Linked DNA regions of Homo sapiens: all the other regions are linked to region 2. Evidence: promoter capture Hi-C in human tissues and cell types (Jung and others, 2019). All regions are on one chromosome and are shown on one strand. Each heading gives the region's core, a stretch centred on a gene start or on the middle of the fragment in contact. The rest is flanking DNA. Distances are from core to core; before and after follow the strand shown.

The links. The method cuts DNA at HindIII sites, captures the fragments that hold promoters and counts their contacts. A contact is called where the count stands out against the background at its distance.
Region 1: a fragment that was not itself captured here is called in contact with the fragment with the promoter of TTLL10 in region 2 in 2 of the 25 tissues and cell types used here (dorsolateral prefrontal cortex and mesenchymal stem cells).
Region 3: a fragment that was not itself captured here is called in contact with the fragment with the promoter of TTLL10 in region 2 in 4 of the 25 tissues and cell types used here (heart left ventricle, mesenchymal stem cells, mesendoderm cells and 1 more).

Annotation. Positions count from the first base shown.
Region 1 is chr1:898,293-900,992 of GRCh38, reverse strand. No RefSeq gene overlaps it. Among named protein-coding and RNA genes, the nearest start is that of LINC02593, 20 kb to the left of the region's middle. The HindIII fragment of the contact is 9,929 bases long and covers 1-2,700 here.
Region 2 is chr1:1,172,579-1,175,278 of GRCh38, reverse strand. It overlaps TTLL10 (tubulin tyrosine ligase like 10), which reads right to left and starts at 1,399. Exons shown (of 16, transcript NM_001130045.2): 1 at 1,353-1,399; 2 at 958-994; 3 at 790-855. TTLL10-AS1 (TTLL10 antisense RNA 1) reads left to right here. Exons shown (of 2, transcript NR_173246.1): 2 at 1-2,223. RefSeq lists a silencer at 1,160-1,249. The HindIII fragment of the contact is 14,261 bases long and covers 1-2,700 here.
Region 3 is chr1:859,174-861,873 of GRCh38, reverse strand. LINC01128 (long intergenic non-protein coding RNA 1128) reads right to left here. Exons shown (of 4, transcript NR_047524.1): 4 at 2,428-2,700. LOC107984850 (a long non-coding RNA gene) reads right to left here and starts at 1,647. Exons shown (of 3, transcript XR_001737608.3): 1 at 601-1,647. The HindIII fragment of the contact is 3,261 bases long and covers 1-2,700 here.

The sequences.
Region 1 (2,700 bases), core at 55-2,554, 270 kb after region 2:
CTTGGCCTTCCCAAGTGCTGGGATTGCAGGTGTGAGCCACCATGCCCAGCCTACTAAATAAACTCTTTTTAAAGAACGGTTTTAGATTCACAAAACAATTGAGAAGACGGAACAGAGTTTACAAACGCCTGGCACCCAGTTACGCTGGTACTAACGTGTTACATTAGCGTGGCACTTGTTACAACTACTTGTTACAACGAATGCACCAATATTGATGGATTCTTATTAACTAAAGGCCACATTTTATTCAGGTTTTCTTAGTTTTTACATAATGTCCTTTTCTTTTCCAGGATCCCAGGATATATTCCATTTAGTAATCAAGTCTCTTTAGGTTCCTAAACTGTGAGTTTTTCAGACTTTCCTTTTTCCATGACCTTGGCAGTTTTGAGGAGGGCCAGTCAGGTATTTTGGAGAATGTCCCTCAATTAGGATTTGTCTATTTTCCTCACGATTATACTGAGGTTCTGGTTTTTTTTGGGGAGAAAGACCCAGAGTCAAGTGTGCAGAGGTCAAGTGATCACTGCCGATGTTAACCCTGGTCCGTCTTCACTCCACCACTGACCTCCACTCTGCACTCCTGAGAAGGAGGTCACTGCGATGAGCCACGTTGGAAGAAGGAGGTCGCTGCGATGAGCCGCGTTGGAGAGGTGGGGAGTTAGGCTGGATCTCCTCAAGAGTGGAGCCTCCACTTAGGTTATTTAGAACTATTCTGCACTGGAGATTTGTCTGTTCTCCCCCATGATAGATATTTAACCTCACGTTTACATATCAGGATGGACTCAAGTTCCCTTTAAAATGTGGGGTGACTGTGGGGGCAGGGAGGTCTGTGAAGGGGCAGGGTCACCTGTTGCCATGAGGAGGGTGCTGTTTGTGTATGTGACGCTGTGTGTGGGAGGCCTTGGGCCTGGGATGGTGTGGAAGGGCCAGCGCAGGAGTCTGAGTGGGCTGGCATCTCTGGCCTCAGCCAGCAGGACCACCCCCTGCTTACTTGCCCAGATTTTATCTCCAGCATCTCCTTTATCCTCATTCCTCACACTGGTTTGGTCTCCCATCCCACCCCATCCCTGCATCCCATCCTGTTTCAGCCAGTGTCCCACTTCCTGGGCTGGTACCCATCTCCCTGCAGCCGGGGTGCACGTGCTGAGCCATCAGTGGACCTGTCTGGCCACAGTGTGGGCCTCTGTGAGCCATGGGATGAGCCAGGCTCCCTGGGGGACAGTGGGGCAGGAGTACAGCTGACGATGCCACGCTGTTGTGCTAAACATCTTCTGATTTTTTTCAGAAGAAGCCAGAAATCCAGATTTTTAAAACATGGAATCTCCTTAATCGCCCTTTCAGAATCAGCATCCTGGTGTGCCAGGCTCGTCCTGGGTCTCCAAGCGATTTCCCCCTTCGTTCCCCACTCTCTCTCATGTCCCTGAAACCCCTCGGACACCTGAGCTGATGTATTGGCCGCTCGTCCCCATATCTGCCACGGGGCTCCATGCCACGTGCTTTCTGCTCAGGCCCGTGTTATTGGACTGCAGACCTGGGGTGAGTGCCCGTCATCCAGCACTGATTTGGATCCATCTGTGGACGCCGTGTCTGAGCACTTAGGAGTATTCCGTGCAGGCACCCCCCATTCTGGTTTGCTTATTCCCTCACTGTGGGCCAGAAGGTGCCCCCAGCCGGGCGCGGTGGCTCATGCCTGTAATCCCAGCACTTTATGGGAGGCCGAGATGGGCGGATCACGAGGTCAGGAGATCGAGACCATCCTGGCTAACATGGTGAAACCCCGTCTGTACTAAAAATACAAAAAATTAGCCAGGCACGGTGGCGGGCGCCTGTAGTCCCAGCTACTCGGGAGGCTGAGGCAGGAGAATGGCGTGAACCCGGGAGGCGGAGCTTGCAGTGAGCCGAGATCGCGCCACTGCACTCCAGCCTGGGTGACAGAGCAAGACTCCGTCTAAAAAAAAAAAAAAAAAAAAAGAAGGTGCCCCCAACTCCCAGGATCTGAAGCAAAGCTGAAATGAGCGCGCCCACAGCTGTTCCCTCGCAGTTCCGGAAGTGGCCTGGAGCAGAGGCTGCATCACAGGACGTGAACACTTCACGTTGCCGAGTGCCTGCAGAGTGCGTTCTGGAAGACGCCCATCCGCTCACAAGCTCCCAGTGGTGCCTCAGGACCTCCACCTGTCACATGTTTGCCGACCGCTGTGTACATATAAGGGGTACAGTGGTGTGTGACTTTTGTTTTTTAATGCATTCAGTTGGAAGAGTTTAAATGTTGAAATGAGAATGACTTAATATTGGTTACTGTTGGGAACAGGCCCCCCAAAATCTGGCCATAAACTGGCCACAAAACTGGCCATAAACAAAATCTCTGCAGCACTGTGACATGTTCATAATGGCCCTAACGCCCACGCTGGAAGGTTGTGGGTTTACCGGAATGAGGGCAAGGAACACCTGACCCGCCCAGGGTGGAAAACCGCTGAAAGACGTTCTCAAACCACAAACATAGCATGAGCGATCTGTGCCATCAGGGCATGCTCCTGCTGCAGATAACTAGCCAAACCCACCCCTTTATTCCGGCCCATCCCTTCATTTCCCGTAAGGGATACTTTTAGTTAATAGAAACAATGCTAATGACTGGTTTGCTGTTACTAAATATGTGGGTAAATCTCTGTTCGGGGCTGTCAGCTCTGAAGGCTGTGAGACCCCTGA
Region 2 (2,700 bases), core at 150-2,649:
AGCAGCTGGAAGAGGCAGCCAGGTGCTGATTTCATCGTAAGCCTGAGGCCTCCTTTGGGCTTTTCTAACTTTATGTCCTTATGATGTTCACAAATAACTAAATAAGTTGTGAGCTGTTATTTCTTGTCATTGAAATTAAAGGTGTTTTTTTTTTTAATTTTTTTAGACGAAGTCTCACTCTGTCGCCCAGGCTGGAGTGCAATGGCGCAATCGCGGCTCACTGTAACCTCCGCCTCCCAGGTTCAAACAATTCTCCCGCCTCAGCCTCCTGAGTAGCTGGGATTACAGGCGCCTGCTGCCATGCCCGGCTAATTTTTGTATTTTTAGTAGAGACAGGGTTTCTCCATGTTGACCAGGCTGGTCTCAAACTCCTGACCTCGTGATCCGCCCACCTCGGCCTCCCAAAGTGCTGGGATTACAGGCGTGAGCCACCGCCCCGGACTGAAATCAAAGGTTTCTTAAGCAGCTGCCCGCTGTGTGTGTGGTGAACCCGGGGCCTGAATGCAGGTGGGACGCAGCCTCCCAAGCGCCGGGAGCCGCTGGCTCCTCACGCCTGTCGATCTAGCAAATGTGCTTTGGAGTCTCTGACGGACGCGATTCTGAATCCAGAAGGAAAGCGTCTCACTCCGAGATGCTGACTGACGTGTCCTTTATAGCGGTGGGACTTGGGAAGCCGGTGACGCCCGGTGTGGAGGACGGTTGTGACGCCCCTCGGTGGGGACACGGTGTAAAGGCGGCGTGGAAACTTGGTGCACGACCTTACAATAAATTGTAAAATAAGCGTTTTACCTGGTGAGATGAAAAGACCGGCAGGAGACGGCACCCCGGTAGGATGAACAGAAGAGACTTTTAAACCTGAAGAAATCATCCAAAAAGCGACCACATGTTAGTGTCCTGCTGCGAGTTCTCCCCCCAGAATCCAAGCTTGGCCACGTGGGGCCCTAGGAAGGTACTGACATTGTTCGAAGAGCTGGTGCCTCCCGGCCGGAGGCCGCTGTCAAAGGACGCACGACCTGTGGGCTCAAGCAGCCGTCCGTCCAGGACTTGCTCTGCGGAGGCAGACCTGGTCCCAGGCCACGGAGCTCGTCCCAGGGCTGCCCAGCCCTCCCACCCCACCGGGTACACACACCGTTCCCCGGCCTGGCCTGGACCCGAGCCTCTCGCACGGTGGCGCTGGGGTCCGGGACCCGCAGAGCAGGCTCAGCCTGGCCCCACCCTACCCGATCCCTGTCCAGTCCCCTCCCCAGCCTCCTCCTCTCCTGAGCAGCCTCCCGAGGGGACCCGCAGGCAGGGCGTAGGAGGGCGGGGCCGAGCCCACTGGACCCCAGCTGGTGGCCGCCGGCGCTTCTTACCTGCCCAGCCCACAAGGTCCTGGGAGCCTGGGCCAGGAAACAACAGTGGTGACCTGGCAACCGTCTCCTGGCAACCCCCACCCAGCCGGAACCCAGAGGTGAGCTTGGGTTTTCGGAGGATGGGGAGGGGCTGCTGAGTGGCGGGGCCAGCCCGGGAAGCCGGGCTGAGGGCTGAGGCTGGAGAAGGGCACAGCTTCATGGGCACAGCTGCCTCCCAGTCACTGCTGGGACTGCCTGAGCCTGAGCCCCAGTTGCTGCCCCTCCGCCCGGCCCTCCCAGGATGGTCCCTGAGCCGTCTCTCAGGCCCCACCCATGCTCAGCACCCCAGGACCTGGCCCGGGCCAGGCTCTGCGTGCACCCTGGTGATGTTGGCTGGATACACGGCTGCCGATCCCTGAGCATTCTCTGTGCTTCACGTGGTCGGGTCCCTGTTCTCACTCCACAGCGGACGAGGTGCCACTGTGCCCCCCTCTGCAAACAGGAACCGGGGGCTCCACAAAGTGAGTGCCCCCCAGAGGGGGACTCACATCTATCGGTCCAAACTGCACCTTTCTGTAAGCCCCTCGCTGTGTCACAGACCTCGGCCAAAGTGAAGCATTCCGCAGGGGTTTGGGCCGTGAGGAACAGCCTGCCCGACACCTGACTTGAACACTCTGCGGGGAAAAACACCGAGGAACATCACGATTACCTTCTGCGGGAACAAGGGCCAAACAAACGGCCTCATCCTGAAGCCGTGTGGCCCGGGCCGCTCCCACCCATACCTATAGGCACCCCAGCCCGTAGGCGGCAGTGGGCTCTGGCATCCAGCTGGTCCCCCACCTCTGCAGGTGTTTGCAATGTACCCGTGTTGATGTAAGGCTGCCCTTTCTCCATCTCTGTGTGTCTTTGTTTAACCCTCACATTCTCTCTTTTTTTTTTTTCAAAATACGGAGTCTCACTCTTTTGCCCAGGCTGGAGTGCAATGGTACGGTCTCGGCTCACTGCAACCTCCGCCTCCCAGGATCAAGCAATTCTCCTGCCTCAGCCTCCCGAGTAGCTGGGATTACAGGTGCCCACCACAGTGCCCAGCTAATTTTTGTATTTTTAATATTAATTTTATTTTTTATTTTTATTTTGTTTTATATTTTATATATTTATTATTTTATATATTATTTTCTATATTATTATAATTATTTTATTATTAATTTATTATTAATTTTAGAGGGTTTCATCATGTTGGCCAGGCTGCTCTTGAACTCCTGACCTCAGGTGATCCGCCCGCCTCGGCCTCCCAAAGTGCTGGGATTACAGGCGTGAGTCACTGCGCCTGGCCTGCCCTCGCCTTCTCTTTAAAACACCTAATGATACG
Region 3 (2,700 bases), core at 90-2,589, 310 kb after region 2:
ATCCATCCATCATCCATCTATTTATCTACCTATAATCTATCTACTATCTACCTATCATCTATCAATGATCTATCATCCATCTATCAATCACCTATATACTATCAACCTATCTACTATCAATTAATTACCAATATCTGTCATCTACCTATACATAAATCACCTATGTATCTATCATCTATCCATCTTCACATGCACACATATGCACATACACACATACATGTACATGATGTATGTGTCTATACTCATACACACATATAAAGGCAATTCTTATTTCTTATTTTCAGTATCTCCTCCCTGATCAGTGTTCGAGCTGTCCAGGAGATGCATGGCTGCTCGAAGGGTCTCACAGCCAGTTTGACTGCCCCTACAACCAGTTCTCTCCACATTTTAATGTGACATGACAGGTGAAAACAGTCATTTACTCTAATAAATTCTCCTCAGCAAAATGAGAGATTACTTTAAAATCGAAGCAGCCAGGACCAACACCCTGGGTGAAAACAATTACATTGATTGCTATGGGGAGATTCGAAACTCTTACAGAGGGCTGAGAAGAAAAGTCAGCTTAAAACGTCCACATTCAAGAGTTAAGTTAGTACTTACAAAGGGCAGGGAACTGTCTAAGGCCACGACCACAAGCACAGGGGGCCTCTGGGCATCAGCGCCAGGCCAGCGAGTAGAGAAGTCCGGCTTGGAGAGTACAAAACAGGCGCGATGTCTAAAGTCCATTGTGCCGCTGAGGAGAGAGGCCATTTCTCTTACTGTCTCCTGTCTGAAGAGGAGGAGGAAGTAAAAGTTGAAAAACAACAGGAATGAAGTCAGTGGCAAGACCAGCTGGTGCCCCTGATGATCAGGCCTGAGGTTAAAAGATTAACCCCCCCACCCCACTCTAAACGCATGTGCTCTCAATCTATCACGACCCTTTCACGTGGAACCTAAAGGTTGTAAACCCTTAAAAGGGCCAGGAACTCTGTCTTCAGAGAGTTCGGTTCTTGAGACTTGAGTCCGCTGAAGCTCCTGGCCGAATAAAACCAAATCATTCCTTAACCCGGCGTCTGAGGGGTTTTGTCCGTGGCTCATCCTGCTACAACACCGAGAAGTGCCAAGAAGGAAAAGGGCCTCTGGCCCGTGGGTGTTGGGCAGAGTCAGAGAAGGTGGGCAGGAGAACCAAAGAGGGCCCGTGGCACTGACGTTAGCAGGCACATGGAGGAGGTCTCGCTCCTGGAGCCTAGAATAGGAAGGATGACTAGGGAGCTGGGAGGGATGGAGGGAGGGCATTTGACGTGGACAGGACTTCTGCCTTCAAAGAAGGGCATGTCTTTAGGTTCCCTGATAAATTCAACTTCTCCTGTGCTCAGCCTACAGCAAAAAGAAGGTGGGGCCAGGTACAGTGGCTCCTGCCTGGAATGCCAGCATTTTGGGAGGCCAAGGCGGGACGATTGTTTGAGCCCAGGAGTCCAAGACCAGCCTGGGCAACATAGTGAGACCTTGTTGCTACAAAAAGGTTTAAAAATTAGCTGGGCACAGTGGCGTTTGCCTGTGGTCCCAGCTACTCAGGAAGCTGAGGTGGGAGGATCGCTTGAGCCCCTGGAGGTGGAGGTTGTAGTGAGCCAAGATTGTACCACTGCACTGCAGCCTGGGTGAAGAGCAAGACCCTGTCTCCATAAAAAAAAAAAAAAAAAAAAAAAAAAAAAAAAAGATGGTAGTGATGATTCTAGCACCTTCCTCAGGTTTCTTTAGATTCCTGGTTCTACCTGCATGGAGCATTTTGTATGGCAGGAAATTTTTTCTTCTTGTAATAAACAGTACACAGGAAATTGTGGAATGAAATGAAGCCCAAGTAATTCTGTTGACAAAAGCAGCATTTTAGTTAATTTTCAGATAAGATTTCTCAGCCCTCTACTGTGAATTTGCCTTTCTGATTGTTGGAGATAATGAAAGAGGTCATAAAACCTTCTTTATGGGTATTATATCATTTGTCTTCAATGTCATGCAATTCTAGAAATCAAAGCTGAAAAGAAACTAAGACAATTTGTAGACAATTTCATAGGTGTAGTAGAGGTGTGTTTAATAACTCAGGGCTGCAATTCTGAAGTGAAATTTAGATACTTCCAATAAGAGTCCACATTGTGGAAGGTATGGGGCAAGGAGCACTTGCAGACACTGTTCATGGGTTAATTGATGAAAGCTTCATGGAAATCAATATGTCAATCAAGAGCCGTGATACACATTGACCTTTCGATGTAGGAATTTTAGTTTTTAGGATACTAGACTAAGGAAATAATTAGAAATATAAATATTCTTGTACAAAGGTATTCATGACATTATTATTATAATGGAAATTATTGAAAATATGTGAATCCAAAATGATGAAGTAGTTAAATAACAAATGATATATAAATGCAATGAAATGTTATATAGTCATTAAAATTACTGTTTGGAAAAATTTTTATTCACTGGAAAAATGTTTATAAAGAAATATTAAGTGAAATGTTGAGAAATATATAGAACTTTACATAAAATATATTAGCCATGCAAATACATGAGTGTACGCTTTCTGTGGATAGACATAAATATTGCTAGAGAAAAAAATAGAAAAGAATCCATCAAGGCATTAACTACACATTTTTCTACGTTACCAGTATCTTAGTGTTCTAGGTGTAGGTTATTAAAATTTCCTTCTCTGTACTTTCTAAAATTTTA